Linked DNA regions of Homo sapiens: region 2 is linked to region 1. The links are contacts of gene promoters, found by promoter capture Hi-C in blood cells and fetal thymus (Javierre and others, 2016). All regions are on one chromosome and are shown on one strand. Each heading gives the region's core, a stretch centred on a gene start or on the middle of the fragment in contact. The rest is flanking DNA. Distances are from core to core; before and after follow the strand shown. Region 1 holds the start of ADCY3 (adenylate cyclase 3). Region 2 overlaps LOC105374329 (a long non-coding RNA gene).

What was found. The method cuts DNA at HindIII sites, captures the fragments that hold promoters and counts their contacts. A CHiCAGO score of 5 or more calls a contact.
Region 2: a contact is called between a fragment that was not itself captured here and the fragment with the promoter of ADCY3 in region 1, in 1 of 17 cell types (endothelial precursors). The highest score is 5.5, in endothelial precursors.

What each region holds. Positions count from the first base shown.
Region 1 is chr2:24,915,465-24,923,265 of GRCh38, forward strand. ADCY3 (adenylate cyclase 3) reads right to left here and starts at 4,773. Exons shown (of 22, transcript NM_004036.5): 1 at 4,219-4,773; 2 at 2,849-3,720. The coding sequence starts at 3,523. It overlaps LOC124907742 (a long non-coding RNA gene), which reads left to right and starts at 4,880. Exons shown (of 2, transcript XR_007086246.1): 1 at 4,880-5,108; 2 at 5,534-5,994. RefSeq lists an enhancer at 1,506-1,755 and silencers at 4,158-4,887, 4,918-4,977, 5,018-5,227, 5,238-5,327. The HindIII fragment of the contact is 7,828 bases long and covers 502-7,801 here.
Region 2 is chr2:24,426,945-24,434,745 of GRCh38, forward strand. The region is part of intron 2 of LOC105374329 (a long non-coding RNA gene); the gene reads left to right. Among named protein-coding and RNA genes, the nearest start is that of NCOA1, 60 kb to the right of the region's middle. The HindIII fragment of the contact is 3,708 bases long and covers 2,737-6,444 here.

The DNA.
Region 1 (7,801 bases), core at 3,523-6,022:
CTCCAGGGCTCAGGGGAGACCGCTGTCCCGGGTGTCCCTCCCCACAGCAACACAGGCTGCTGCAGCTTGTGTTTTTTGTTGTTTTTGTTTTTGTTTGATGGAGTCTCACTCTGTCGCCCAGGCTGGAGTGCAGTGGTGCGATCTCGGCTCACTACAATCTCTGCCTCCTAGGTTCAAGTGATTCTCCTGCCTCAGTCTCCTGTGTAGCTGGGATTATAAGCACGCCCCATCACACCTGGCTAATTTTTGTATTTTTAGTAGAGATGCGGTTTCGCCATGTTGGCCAGGCTGGTCTTGAACTCCTGACCTCAGGTGATCCGCCCGCCTCAGCCTGCCAAAGTTCTGGGATTACAGGCATGAGCCACCATGCCCGGCCCCATTTCCACCATCTTCAGAGGCCAAATGCCGGGATGCTGTGAGTTGAGGAAGACCCTGGTGGGTGGGCCTGGGAACCCAGGCACCTTTTAAAAAGTCACATTAGTCCCAAACCAGTGACTCAGAAGCTTCTGGAACACAGCCCACTGTAAGCTGGGGCCTCCTGCCTTCGATCTCAGGCTCCCAATCGGACCTTGAGAGCTCTCTGCCCCTCCTGCTCTGTTCCCAAAGCTGCCTCCCAGGCACTGCTTGCATGCCAAGGTCAGGCTCCCCTGGGATGCTAATATTTTTATTCTTGATTTCTATCTTTTTTTTTCTGTTTTCTAAGTTTTAGGGTTTTATGTCTTAGCAATACTCAAAGGAGAACAATCATGAGTTTAGAAGTGATCTCCGAGTAGCCACGTGGTGGGGCACCCAGGCCCCGGCCCAGCCCTGTGGCCATACCTTCTCAGTCCTTTTCCCTGGAAGCTCCAGGAGCCTCAAAATAAGCTCCTTGTCCACCTGAGGAGATGGAGCTAGAGAGACCAGTCATCCTCAGACCTCAGACCTTAGAACCTGGGATGCCTGGGCATGGTGGCTCACGCCTGTAATCCCAGCACTTTGGGAGGCCGAGGCGGGCGGATTATGAGGTCAAGAGATCGAGACTATCCTGGCCAACATGGTGAAACCTTGTCTCTACTAAAAATACAAAAATTAGCCAGGCGTGGAGGCGCGTGCCTGTCATCGCAGCTACTCAGGAGGCTAAGGCAGAAGAATAGCTTGAACCTGGGAGGCGGAGGTTGCAGTGAGCTGAGATCGCGCCATTGCACTCCAGCCTGGCAACAAAGCAAGACTCCGTCTCAAAAAAAAAAAGAACCTGGGACTGGCTAATGCATGGCCTGAAGAGATATGACTGGTGTTTCCACCTAGTCAATGACCAGAAACTCACAGCCCCCTCTACAGAGATTTGGGGTGGGGACGGCAGGGCAGCACATAGCCACTGTCTCCAGGAGGTGGGGTGGGAAGCAAAGCTCCTGCTCTCAGGCAGCTCTCAGTGCTCCAAGGAACATACACAAATGAGCCCTGGGCTGGGGGTCAATGCCTGGGCTCCCGTCCTGTTTCTGCCACCAAAGTGCTGGGTGACAGTGAACCAGTTATCACTCATCTCTGTTTCCTCCTCTGTAAAATGGGTAGTCTGGGCTAGATGCCCTGCCAGGCCCTGCCTATGTTAACATCCTCTACCCATTTCTAGAACAAATCAGCAGGATGAGACATGAGTGGAGAAATCAGCAGAGGAGTGGAAGATTCTGTCTGTCCACCCTGGGCCTGCACATAGCACCTGGTCTCCAGGACCCAGGCACTGACCTCCATGGCTGCTAGAGGCTCACGTCAGTCAGCAAGGATTCTGGGCACGCCCTGCCTCTCCTGACACCCAGAAGGTCACCGCTTCAGAGCTGACTCTACCCCAGCCCCACTAACCACAGAACAGAGCTGGCGTGGGAGTTAAGACATCTCTACCAGACAGAGCACTGCAGGGGCAGGAAGTGGGGGAGCCTCTCTTGACCATCATTGGCACGAGGCTGGCAGGCTGGGCACCAAACCCAGATGCAGACATCTCCGCCTCATTCTCTGGTCACCGGCTTGCTGGCTCCCCAGGGACACACACTGCCTACTGTCCCTCAGGTCCCCTGGTCTCTGCAGCCCCTGAGGGCCTGGCACTTGGTGGGAACACAATACTATAATAGTTAAGCTGAGGCCGAAATTCCACCCCTTCCAGTAGAAAGCGTGCTCCAGGACCAGCAGAATGCGTGCTTTAGGACCAGGAGACCCTACGTCACAGTGGCCGGCATGACTGTCCCCATTTGCATCCCCACACCACACCTTCAGTGGGGAGACCACCATTCTCCACTTCATAGAACTCCCCAGGCACCCCGAGCTCCCGGAGGCAGGAAATATGACAACTGCGTCTTCCCTCTGTGCAGCCCTTCACGTATCCTAATGCGCTTTCCCCCACATCTCCTGCAATCCTGACAACAACCGTGTCATGCAGGCAGAGCGGACGTTATCCCCATTTGACAAAGGGGCACTGAGTCCACACAGCTAGTCAGTGCTGGGGAGAGATGGGAATCAAGGAGCCCTCTTCCCAAGGGAGGTCCTCCTTGCCAGGGTCACTGACAGGGAATGGCCAGGACAATGCTGCCTCAAGACCAGCCCTGGGTGGGCCTTCCTGTCACACACTTAGACTGGGCACAGGTGAAGAGTGGCCCTGAGGCCCAATGCCCTGACATCCTCCTTTCCCTGGGGCCAAGCACAGGCAGACTCCGGGTAATGGCACAGGGGTGAAAAGGCAGGGACTAGGGAGAGAGGTGAGAGCCCCGGAGGCCCCCAGGACACATTTTGACTCAAAGGCAAAGCAAACAGCAACTCCAACAGGTCCCAAGTTGGTGAGAGCTGCAGGAGAGGACGCTGTGGGGGGACAGTGGGCAGGACTCACCTCCCGCAGCAGCTGCATCCCCTTGAGCTCCTCCTGCTGCTGCTGGGCCACGGTGACCCCCAGGACCAACGTGTGCACCACACAGGAGACCACGGAGATGATCACGATGGGGCTGAGGCTGAGGGGCAGCGTGATGAAGAAGGAGAAGACAAAGAAGACCTGCCAGCCCACCGTGTCACTAGCCGCGTGGGCACGCGCGAAGTTCAGGCCCAGGTAGGAGAAGATCTGGGCGGTTATGAGCAGCCACAGCACGTAGGGCAGCACTCTGCGGGTGACCCGGTCCGGGAGCAGCCCCTTTTTGCAGAGCACGAAGAGGATGATGTCCAACACCAGTCCAATTCCAGCCACGGCGAGGGAAGCCAGCTTGTCGCTGGAGAAGACCACAGCACACATGACCACCACGTAGCAGTCAAAGAGGGCTGCAAAGACCACCAGCACCAGCAGGGTCTCGTGGCGCTGCCTTTTGAAGTAGGTCTGGTAGAGGTTCTCCAAGGACTCCGGCACGAAAGTCAGCCGCATGAAGCGAGGCAGGCACAGGCAGGAGCCCGAGTTCCGGACCGAGATTTCATGGGTCCGGCCCACCCCGCGGTCAGGGTCGGAGGGCAGGCTGACGGAGTACTCGGCTGAGTACTCGGCCGAGTATTCGGGCTCGGAGAAGCCCTGGTTCCTCGGCATACTGGCTGGTGTCTGCTACTGGCCCTAGAGAAGTGGACTGGGAACGGAGGAAGAGCTCTGGACTGGGCCTCCTCTCAGGGCTCTCTGAGACCGGGGGAGGGCTGAGGGCCTCTTCTTGTCTGGGGCGGAGGGGAGGCCACCTCCAGCAGGAACGCAGAGCGGGTTTCCAGAGCACAGGTAGCACTGATCAGCTAGAACTGAAAAGGGCATTGCTGAGTAGAAGCACCTCTTCCCTCCTACCTTGCGGTTTCCCCATGACCCGCCCTAACCCTCATAAAAGGATCTCTGCTGCAAGAGCCTCCCAACCCAGGGCCTTCCCTGCCACCCCCGGCTCACACCACCGCCCACCGCAGGCACACTTAGTCCTGTCCACGCCAGACACTCAATTTCCTGTCCCTGGCTTGTGGAAGGGCCTAGCCGCCTTTCCATCCCTGGTAACCGGTTTCTCTCTGTCATCTCTTCTTTCTCAGTCCCCGACTTCCTCACCTAAATTCCCTCCAGGCCCAGTCCTTAGAAGCTGTAAATAAAATGTGCCGGAAAGAAATCAGGACCATCGTGGGGGATTCCTGAGCCTTCCTTCTGTTTACTTCCTTTTTCCACCAAACCCTTGGAGGCTCGGGCTCCGATCCGGCCCCCTTCCCACGCTCGGGGCGCTGTCTTCCCCCCCGGAAGCCTGGCCCTGCCCCTGCGTTTACCTGTGCGGGAACTCGGCCACCGCGTGCTCCGGGACGGTCCCCGCGCGGGCTGGGGCGGGAGAGCTCGGCGCGCCCGAGGGCTGCTCCCCGCAGAGCCGCGCCGCCCCGGCAGCGCCTCGGGGCCCGGCCGGAGCGCGATCTCCCGCCGTCAGGCCCGGGATCCGACCGGGAGAGGCGCAGGGCTGCCCCTCAGCATCCGCGGGCGCCCGGCCGCAGGGGGAAGGAGGAGGCGGCGACGAGGGCTGGGAGATCCGTGGGCGCCGGCCCAGCGCGCCCGCCCTGGGGCTGAGGCTCAGGGGCAGGGGCCGTGCGGGGGCCGGCAGGCGCGGGCGGCGGCGAGCGCGGCTCTCCGGACCCCTCCCCTGCACCCGCGGCGGCGGCGGCTGCTAGGGGCGCGCGCGGGGCCCTCCCCGGCGGGAGCGCGGGCCGAGCCCGGGGAAGCCCGCCAGCATCCTCTCGCCCGCCCGCGCCGAGCCGAGCCAGCCGAGTCCGGGCTCGGCGTGCTGCACAGCTATTCCCCGCGCGGCGCCGGCGGCTCCGGGGCCACGCGCGCTCCAGGCCCCGGGAGGCGGGAGGCGGGAGGCGGGAGGCGGGCGGGGCGGCCCCTCCCTCGCCCCAGTCTCCGCCCTCTCGGCGGCGCGTTCCGGAGTGGGGCGGCGAGGGAGGCGCCGGGCGGCGGTCCCAGGACCCGCGCGGGCGAGAGGTGGAGGGGCCCGGGCGGCCCCCGATCCGGCGCGGGCGGCGGGCTGGGGCGATGGCTGCGTGGAAGCGCGGGCGCGGGCGCGGGCGTGGGCGGTGGGCGGTGGGCGGCAGGGCTGGGGCGAATCCACCCCTTCCAGCGAGGAGGCCCGGTCTAGGAGGATGGAAGCCCGGGACGCGCCCGCCCGCAGGTGAGGCGCGCTCGGGGCACCCCGCCGCCCCCTCCTCCGCCGCGGCTTCCTTCCGGGCCGGCAGAGGCCAGGGCTCAGGTTTGGGGACCGCTCCGCCGCGGGGCACGTGGGGCCTAAGTATCCCCGCCCACCCCGGGAGCCCAGACTCCGGAGCGCCGGGCCTGAGCTTTCCGCAGAGGGGCTCGGCAGCGGAGCCCTGTCCTGCTCCCAGGAGGCGGGTGGCGGTGGCCCGGTGGGCACTACACACGTGGAACTGGAAGAGTTCCTGAGACCCTGCTTCGAAGAGATTTCCCGTGCACATTCTACCCGTTTGAGATGTGTTTGAGTTCACAAACTGTCCCTTAAAGATGCGAATGCTCCTTTGAATAGTTAAACCTATCAGTCTCTTACACCATAGTATAAATTATTTTCCTTGCATTTGACAGAACACCGTGCTAAGATCAACTACAGGCTTTGGGAATTTAAATAAAGGAAGAGGAAAGAGATAGAATGTTTTGGGACAAAAGGGACAAAAGCATGTGTGGGAAGGTAAGTGCTGAGGACAGCCAGCAGCAATAGGGGGTCATCTCCCCTGGGGAGAGCTGAAGGAATGAACAGAGGGGAGAGAAACTTGGCTATCCAGACCCTGGATGGAGCTGCCACCCCATGCCCCTGAGAGTTATCCGCGGGCACCCCTTCCAGAACCTCAGGCATCACCTTGCATCCCTCGGGGAATGGATCCATTAGAGAATCGATCCTGCCACTGCTGTTTCTACCGTTCCCTCACACTCTGTCTGAAAAGGCGCCACCTTCAGCCCATACTTCGCAGGGCTTTGATTCCAAAGGTAGGGGACCTAACATCAGATATAGGAGTTTGGTAATTTAAATAAAGCAAAACTTTGCCCCATTGTTTTATTTTATTTCTATTTTTTATTTTTTCGAGACTGAGTCTCACTCTGTCACCCAGGCTGGAGTGCAGTGTTGTGATCTCAGCTCACTGCAACCTCCACCACCCAGGTTCACGCAATTCTCCTGCCTCAGCCTCCTGAATACCTGGGATTGCAGGCACACACCACCAAGCCCGGGGTAATTTTTGTATTTTTAGTAGATGGGGTTTCACTATGTTGGCTAGGCTGGTCTTGAACTCCTGACCTCAAGTGATCCGCCCACCTCAGCCTCCCAAAGTGCTGGGATTACAGGGATGAGCCACTGCTCTGGGCTGCCCCATTGTTTTAATTTGCTGGAGGTTTTTGGGTTTTGGGGGGGATTTTTTTTGGAGGGAGTTATTTGTGGTTTGTTTTTTGTTTTTGTTTTTTAAAAAGGAAGGCATTTATTTATTTATTTATGAGACAGAGTCTCACTCTGTCGCCCAGGCTGGAGTGCAGTGGCCATCTCAGCTCACTGCAACCTCCGCCTCCTGGGTTCAAGCAGTTCTCCTGCCTCAGCCTCCCAAGTAGCTGGGATTATAGGCACCTGCCACCATGCCTGGCTAAATTTTGTATTTTTAGTAGAGACAGGGTTTCATCATGTTGGCCAGGTTGGTCTCGAACTCCTGACCTCAAGTGATCTGCCTGCCTCAGCCTCCCAAAGTGTTGGGAATACAGGTGTGAGCCATCATGCCTGGACTTTGCTGGAGGTTTAAACATTTATTTTGAATTGTCACATGATGTTAAAGAGGACATGACTTTTATGTTTTACAAAGGGAGATGTAATGTACGGCAAGGCGCAGTGGCTCATGCCTGTAATCCCAGCTCTTTGGGAGGCCGAGGCAGGCAGATCACTTGAGGTCAGGAGTTCGAGACCAGCCTGGCTGACATGGCAAAACCCTGTCTCTACCAAAAAATACAAAAATTAGCCGAGCGTGGTGGCGGGTGCCTGAAGTCCCAGCTGCTCAGGAGACTGAGGTGGGAGAATCGCCTGACCCTAGGAGGCAGAGGTTGCAGTGAGCCAAGATCGTACCACTGCACTCCAGCCTGGGCAACAGAATGAGACCCTATCTCAAAAAAAAGTGGGGGTTGGGGGAGAGATGTGCTAATGTTTTTTAAAAGGCTGATAAATCTTGTGCTTGGTCCTGCTTTGGCACAAGAGACACCATGTTGCACCCTCTGTGGGTCCCTTCCCCTTCCTTGGCATACATGCCAGCCCTGTGATTCTCAGTGTGGCACCCTGTCCGCAAGGCCATGCCCAGCTCCTAAGCTGAGAGGGTTCTCTGCTGGGCCCTCTGCCACCACTCATGCCCCAGCCTCCCACCCCATGAAGGGAGAGAGTTCCACACAGAGGCACCCTCATATAAAAAGAACAACAACAAATTGATCCCTGCCTCTCCAGCCCCTGCCTGCTGGCTTCACTGTCCCACTCCCTGTTCTTCCACCATCCCTATCTCTCCTCTGTGGGCCCCTGTTCAGCGGGCACTGGGGAAACCAGAGGAGCCTTATAGTTCTGCCAAGGCACCATGTTGACTCATGAGGCAGACCCTCAGGTGTACACAGGTTACAGTTGGGGGTGACTTCTGGCTGAGGTGATCAGAGACAGGGCCTTTCAGGGCAAGAGGGAAGGATCTGATGGGCCTGAAAGGCAGGCGTTCCAGGTGGCTGGAGCCTCCCTGCAAAGGCCCAGCCGCAGGAAGAGCACAGCACATTCCCATCCCTGCTCCGCGTTCAGGGTTCTGGCACGGCCTTTCCCTGTGGATATGGGAAACGCAGTGGGACAGCAGT
Region 2 (7,801 bases), core at 3,341-5,840, 490 kb before region 1:
TATTCCAAACATACTAGAGAGGATGCCTATGGAAGTGAAGATTGAGGAAATGGCAATATAAAATACGAGAGGGGCCCCTTGTCCAGAACCAATGACAAGAATGTGGCAAGCAAACACCTCTGGCCTAACCAGAAGCACAGCAAAAACTGTCCTTCCTCACCCCCTCAGAGTGGGAATTGCTTCACCCCTTCTGCTTGCTATCACGGAGTTTCTTGTTTTTAAACTGTTCTCTGGGAGTCCCTGGCCATGGCTTTTCCTACACTCTGTTAAGTGATACCATCGATAAAACTTAGAGCTCATGTACAGTTTGCAAATATCCTTTTGTTCTTTAGATTTTCCTAGTCAAATTAAGTATTAGATGTGGATATGAAGTAATGAGTTTTTAAGCTTCTTCCAAATGAATGTTATTTCTTTCAAAGCAGTCATAGTTTCCAGCAGTTCTGCCAAAGCTTGAAACATTTTTGGAACTGTGTGTGTGTGTGTCTGTGTGTGTGCATGCACATTCACATTGTGTGTGCATGTGTGTGTGTGTACAATGTGCTTAAAGACCAATCAAACTTTATATTATTTTCTTTTTTTTGAGACAGTCTCTGTCACCCAGGCTGGAGTGCAGTGGCGCCATCTCGGCTCACTGTAAGCTCCGCCTCCCAGGTTCACACCATTCTCCTGTGTCAGCCTCCCAAGTAGCTGGAACTACAGGCACCCACCACCACGCCTGGCTAATTTTTTGTATTTTTAGTAGAGACGGGGTTTCACCGTGTTAGCCAGGATGGTCTTGATCTCCTGACTTTGTGGTCCGCCCGCCTTGGCCTCCCAAAGTGCTGGGATTACAGGCGTGAGCCACCACGCCCAGCCTCAAACTTTGTATTATTTTCAAATCTAGTCTTACATTACCTGATCACTGCCCACCTAGGCAATCTCATCTCATCCTCTTCTCCCCATTTTGCCCACAGTGTTCCAGGCACTCCTGGCTTCTTTTAGTTTCTCCAGTGTGCACAATGCATTCTTGCTGGGGGTAGCTGTTCCATTTGTCTGAGATGCTCATCCTTCTGGTCTTCCTTCTCAAGGTGGGCTCCTTTCTGTTGCACAGGTCTTACTTAAATGTCACATCCTTAGAGAAGCTTTCTCTGACCACCCAAACCAAAGAACCATCTAAGGACTTGCTATCTCACCATCCTGCTTTTAATTTTTCCACTGTCACCACTATCAGATATTTGCTTGTTTAATGACTGTACCCCCAATTTAAATAAAAGTCACATATTCTCACGGGGCTCAGTGGCTCACGCCTGTAATCCCAGCACTTTGGGAGGCCGAGGCATGCGGATGACTTGAGACGAGGAGTTGGAGACCAGCTTGCCAACTTGGTGAGACCCTGTCTCCACTAAAAGAACTACAAAATTATCTGGGCATGGTGGCACGCACCTGTAATCCCAGCTACTCAGGAGGCTGAGGCAGGAGAATCACTTGAGGTTGCAGTGAGCCGAGATCATGCCATTGCACTCCAACCTAGGCAACAGAATGAAACTCCGCCTCTTAAAAAAAAAAACACATATTCTCATGGCCAAGAAAGGTGCCTGCTACATGATAGGTGCTATGAGAATGTTTGTTGAGCACACTGGAGTATGAGGAACTCAGATCTCTGCCCCTGAGGTCCAAAAAATAAGCAACTTAAGTATAAGAGGTTATTGTAGATTTTCTCCTTTGTTAATTGGCTTATTCTTTTATTACATCACTTCATTGCTAACTTTGCGTCACATATCCCTATTTATTTATTTATTTATTTATTTATTTATTTATTTATTTATTTTTTGAGACAGAGTCTCACTCTGTCACCCAGGCTGGAGTACAGTGGCACGATCTTGGCCCACTGCAGCCTCCTCCTCCCGGGTTCAAGCGATTCTCCTGCCTCAGCCTCCCAAGTACAAGTGCGTGCTGCCATGCCCAGCTAATTTTTTGTATTTTTAGTAGAGACTGGCTTTCACCGTGTTAGCCAGGATGGTCTCAAATCTCCTGACCTCATGATCTGCCTGCCTCGGCCTCCCAAAGTGCTGGGATTACAGGTGTGAGCCACGGCGCCCGGCATACATATCCCTATTTATAAAGTATCTGTTTTTCCTACTAAGCTATGGGCCTCTGGAAAGAAAGAACTATGTTTTAAATTTTTCATATTCCCTAGAGGATTTAGCATAAAACTTTGATATTCTGAATATTAGATATATATTGTTATCAGATTGAACGGAATCTGATTGGTATGAATAAGTGTGTTTGCGTAAGTGTGTGTGTGTGTGCGCGCATTACAGGTATAGTGAGAGACAGACAAGCAGAGAAAACACATTTGTATGGGCCTGTGTGGGTACATTTTGTGCCAGTGATTTTTAGACTGATTTTGAGGGTCTGCTTACATTTAGAAAGTACAAATTTGGACAGAGATCAAGTTTCTGGGCCATGTTGTCATAACAACCTAAGTTCTGCAGGACCTAAAATAACTCAGACAAAACGTGATAAGGTCATGGACTTAAGATGGTCTATACCCAATGTACATGATACTCTGCTCTTTTTTACGTGAAGAACAGTGACATAAAGGAGTTAAAGGGGGATAAGGCCACAAAAACCATGGTTACCCCAATCTTTAACTGGAGTAGGCTGAACTTCTTGAGGACTGACCCCGTGTCCTGCTGATTTTTCTCTGCAGTGACTAACACAGTGCATCATAATGCATAGGGAACACTTAACGAAAGCTTGCTAAGTGATGGACTAAATGAAAAACTGAAGAAATGAAAAGTAATGAGATTGATTCTTTTATATGACTCATGAATTGGCTCAGAAGCCATTGGCTCCGAAGAAACTCAGTTGAAGAGTTCCAAAAACGCAGCATCGTTGACCTAAGTGTGTGGTCTCTATAGAACACATTTTCAGCCGTAGAATGTGGCATTGCTATCCATCAAGTCGCCATCTTTCAGACTCTCAGGCTAGAAACTTTAGAAGCTGTCATGAGTCATCCACCGTTCTTCCCTTCCACATCTAAGCAGTCATTAAGTCCTGCCAGGTTTACCTCAGGAATAGCCTCAGCCCACAGTGCCTCCTTGTCTAATATCTAGACAATAGATGCTAGTCTCTCCCGTTTGCAATCAATCCTTCCCCAACTCCCCAAAGTTATTCCCCTGTAACCAGTATATTAAACAAGATGGATTTGGGATGGCTCAAACAGAAAGCACTTGTCCTATCTTATAACTATGCTGTGGTTTGAATGTGTCCCCCGAAATTCATATGTTGGAAATTTAATCCCCAATGCAATGGTGTTGAGAGGTGGGATCTTTAAGCCGTGATTAGGTCATGAGGGCTCTGTTTTCACTGATGGTTTAAGGTCATTACTGAGGGAGTGGGTTTGTTACTGCCAGAGTTGGTTCCTGATAAAGGGATGATTTCAGCCCTCTCCCCTCCCCTCATTGCCTCCTTCTCCCCTCTCCTCTCTCTCTCCTTCCCTCTCTTCCTCTCTTTCATGTGCATGCATGGGTCCATGCTGTCTTGCCCTTCCACCTTTTGCCATGGGATGATGCGGCAAGAAGGTCCCTGGTAGGCTGGATGTGTTGGTTCACACCTGTAATCCCAGCACTTTGGGAGGATGAGGTGGGAGGATCTCTTAGCCCAGGAGTTTGAGAGCAGCTTGGGCAACAATAGTGAGACCTCATCTCTACAAAAAATAAAAAAATTAGCTGAGTGTGGTGGCATGTGCTTGTAGTCCGAGCTACTGTGGAGGCTGAGGTGGAAGAATTGCTTGAGCCCCGGAGGTCCAGGCCACAGTGAGCCATTATTGCACCACTGCACTCCAGCCTGGGCAACAGAGCAAGACCCAGTCTCAAAAAAAAAAAAAAAAAAAAGCAAGAGACTGGGTGTGATGGCTCATGCCTGTAATCCCAGCACTTTGGGAGGCTGAGTTGGGTGGATCACAAGGTCAGGAGTTCAAGATCAGCCTGACCAATATGGTGAAACCCCATCTCTACTAAAAAATACAAAAATTAGCCGGGTGTGGTAGCAGGGGCCTGTAAGTCCAGCTACTCGACTGAGCCTGGAGAATTGCAGATTGCGCCACTGCACTCCAGCCTGGGTGGCAGAGTGAGACTCTGTCTCAAAAAAAGAAAGAAAGAAGAAGGTTATCTGATCAATGTGGGCCCCTTGGACTTAGTAGCCTCCAGAACTGTAAGAAATAAATCTCTGCTCTTTAGTAATTATTGTTTCAGATGCTCTGTTAGAGTAGCACAAAATGGATTGAGAAAGAATGTCCCTACTCTCTCAAATCTTTCTTCCCTACCCATCCATGGTTGTCTCTTTTTTCTTTTGAGACAGGGTCTCGCTCTGTCATGCAGGCTGGAGTGCAGTGGTGCAATCATGACTCACTGTAGCTTTGACCTCCTAGGCTCTGCTGAGCCTCTCACCTCAACCTCCCAAGTAGCTGGGACCACAGGCATGCACCACCACACCCAGCTAATTTTTGTATTTTTTTGTAAAGACAGGGTTTCCTCATTTTACTCAGGCTGGTCTCCAACTCCACGGCCCAAGTGATCTGCCCACCTCGGCCTCCCAAAGTGCTGGGATTACAGGCGTGAGACATGGCACCCAGCCCCTACCCATGGTTTTCCGTTTATCATCAGGTATTGAAAAGTTCAGTCCAATCAAATATCAAAATTTTAATTTCTTATCCAAATTAAAGTTCTCCCTGTCACTAGTGTGAGCAAACTTAGGCTTGCAAGCATATAGGGAAGAAGGGGGTTCCAGTCATTGTCTTCTCTTTGTTTCTCCTCCTCTTGCATTAGCTGGGCCCAGGAGAGAGGGGATTAAATAAACAGAGGCCTTCAGTGGCTCTTGAGTTGTAATCACAGCACCCTTGGTAAGTAGCAGATCTAACGGGTATTTCTCTAGTGAGGTGCTTTTGAGAATTTGTTTAGAGACCCTTCCTCCTTTGGCCCTCCTACTAAGCATTCCCTTGACTTGGACAGTGCCCATTTTAGCTAGGCTCTTCCATTCTCCCCTTTATGACTTGAATTCCAGTTGACCATCCCGCATAGTGTTTCTTATGTTGGAATCATCCAGAAGGTCCTCTTAGATAGGGTCTGTAAGATGACTCAAGTCCAGCTTTCTTCCTCATGTCCCCCTGGCACAAACTTCCCCACTGTTTCTGCAAGTGTGGCTTGTTCCTTCTGGGTCCCCTGGCTTTGCTCTACTGCCACCCACCAGCCTTCCACTCAAGAACTTTTTCCACTGATATCAGAACGCAGCCTCTCTGTCCCTTCTCTTAGGAAGCCTGGAGATGGGTGAAGGTCTAACCATGGCAGAACTGGCACAAGGCCACTCTCTTTGCAAGTCCTGCCTGGACAGTCTTGTACCTCACTTAGGATGTGGAGGAGGGACTGAAACCTATTGTTCTCAGTTTTGAAGCCTCAGCCAAAACTCTGAGAAAGGAAAAGCCCTATTTTAACATGCTGTTACATTCCTTTAAAAACATCACATATTGTTTTGTTTTGTTTTAATTAACTGTTCCAAGTTTTTTCTTTTCTTTTCTTTTTCTTTCTTTCTTTCTTTTTTTTTTTTTTTTGAGATGGAGTTTCGCTCTTGTTGCCCAGGCTGCAATGCAATGGCGCAATATTAGCTCACTACAACCTCCACCTTCCGGGTTCAAGTAATTCTCCTGCCTCAGCCTCCTGAGTAGGTGGGATTACAGGCACGCGCCAACAGGACGTGCGTCTAGCTAATTGTTGTATTTTTAGTAGAGACAGGGTTTCGCCACGTTGGCCAGGCTGGTCTCGAACTCCTGACCTCAGGTGATCCACCCACCTTGGCTTCCCAAAGTGCTAGGATTATAGGCGTGAGCCACTGTGCCTGGCCCTAACTGTTCCAAGTTTACAATGTTTGATTTTTGAAGTCCAGACTCAGAACAGACATCTAAGTGGATCACTGGACCCCCAGCATTTTGCAAATGAGGAAGTGAAACCCAAGGAAGTTCCCTGATTTATGGAAGATCAAACAGCTGGTAATGACTGAAACAGAACTTGATCCTAGATCTTTGGCTTCCAGATCTTACGTTCTTCCTACCACATTGTCCTGCCTGAAATGCCTCTCCTTAAAGGTACCAGAGACATTTGCTCCTGATAAAGCTACTTGTATGTAAGGGTCAACTGAAAATAATATAAACTTTTAATGATTTTCAAAAAGCCTAGAGCTGGGTGCACTGGTGTACGCCTGTAGTCCCAACTACTCAGGAAGCTGAGCACAGCCCAGGAGTTTGAATCCAGCCTGGGCAACATAGCACAACCCCATCTCTGTTTTTGTTTTTTTGTTTTGTTTTGTTTTGTTTTGTTTTGTTTTTTAATTAAAAAAAGCCTATGAACTAGATGCTGTGATTATGGTGATTATGGATGATTTTAATTTTTGGTTTATCTACGTTTTCTAAGCTTTCTATGAAGATTATATATTTCTCTTATTGTAAGGAAAAACATAAAATTACTCTTTTTCTTGTAGGTCTCTATTTTAGAAAGTAATTCCATATAAATGAAAACAAAACTGCATCTATCCAGCTTTTGGAAAGTCTGTTTGAGTAGAATAATAAGACCTGACGTAGGGTCCTGGCTCTTGTTAACTGTGTAACCTTGAGTTAGTCCCTTGACCTTTGGGATTCATTTTATTAAATGTAATACGGGGAGCCGGGATGGTATAAAATCTGAGCTGTTTTCTAATTCTGAAAATAAAAATTTTTTCTTAGAAGGCTTGTAAGGAGCAATTATGAAAACTTACATGAAAAGTCTCAAAATATACAGCTTCGTGTACATTTTATGGCAATAAAGGACCGTGACTTCTCATCATTCTCTACCATGAGCCTTCCAGTCAAGTGAGATCAGCTGTGTCATTTTACCCAAGTAAAGCACTTCTGACTTTGAAGACCCTGGAAGTCTTCACTGATGCTCAAGTCCTACCTCCTCGGTGAAGTCTCCCTGACTACTCCAGCCCTAATCGGCCCACCTCCCAGTCCCTACAGACTTTGAGCCTACACTACACAGTTTAGCTAATCATTTGATGCTCTTCTGTGTTGTACACTGTGATTTCCTGTGTATTCAAGTTTTATTTAAAAGACAGAGTCTTGCTCTGTCACCCAGGCTGGAGTGCAGTGGCATGATCCTAGCTTCCTGTAGCCTCAAACTCCTGGGCTCAAGCAATCCTCCTGCCTCAGCCTCCCGAGTAGCTGGGACTACAGATGCATGCCACCGTGACAGGATCTTGCTGTGTTGCCCAGACTGGTCTCAAACTCCTGAGCTCAAGCAGTCCTCCTAAAGCACTGGGATTACAGGCATGAGCCACTATGCCCAGCCCGTATTTGTTTTTTTTTCTCCAAGCCATTGCCTGCAGACAGCAGCCATGCTCGCTGTCTCTGTTTTTCCCCTATCCTTGCTCAACCTAGGCTGAGCCCTCCCAGGGCCCTCTGTGTATGTTTGTTAGTGAGGAAGTGTCTGTTAGAAGAAAGGGTCTGAAAGGTTCAATTAGAGACTCAAGATCTGTGGGGTTCCCAGCTGTCCCTGGAGCAAGGTACCCTTGACAGCCAGTCTATGGTCTATGAGAGCGTGAAGTTGATTCCTTTTCCTCCAGCTTCCTTTGGGTCTTTCCCCAACCTGGCCTTGGGCAAGGCTGACTCTGGGTTGCTTTTCTGTTGCTGTTACTCCCTGGAATTGGACCCATAGTTTGAGCCTCCTCTGGAAAAGGGATCACAAGTCTCTCCTTACACTGCTGGCTCCAGGTCACCTCCTGTAGGCCAGGC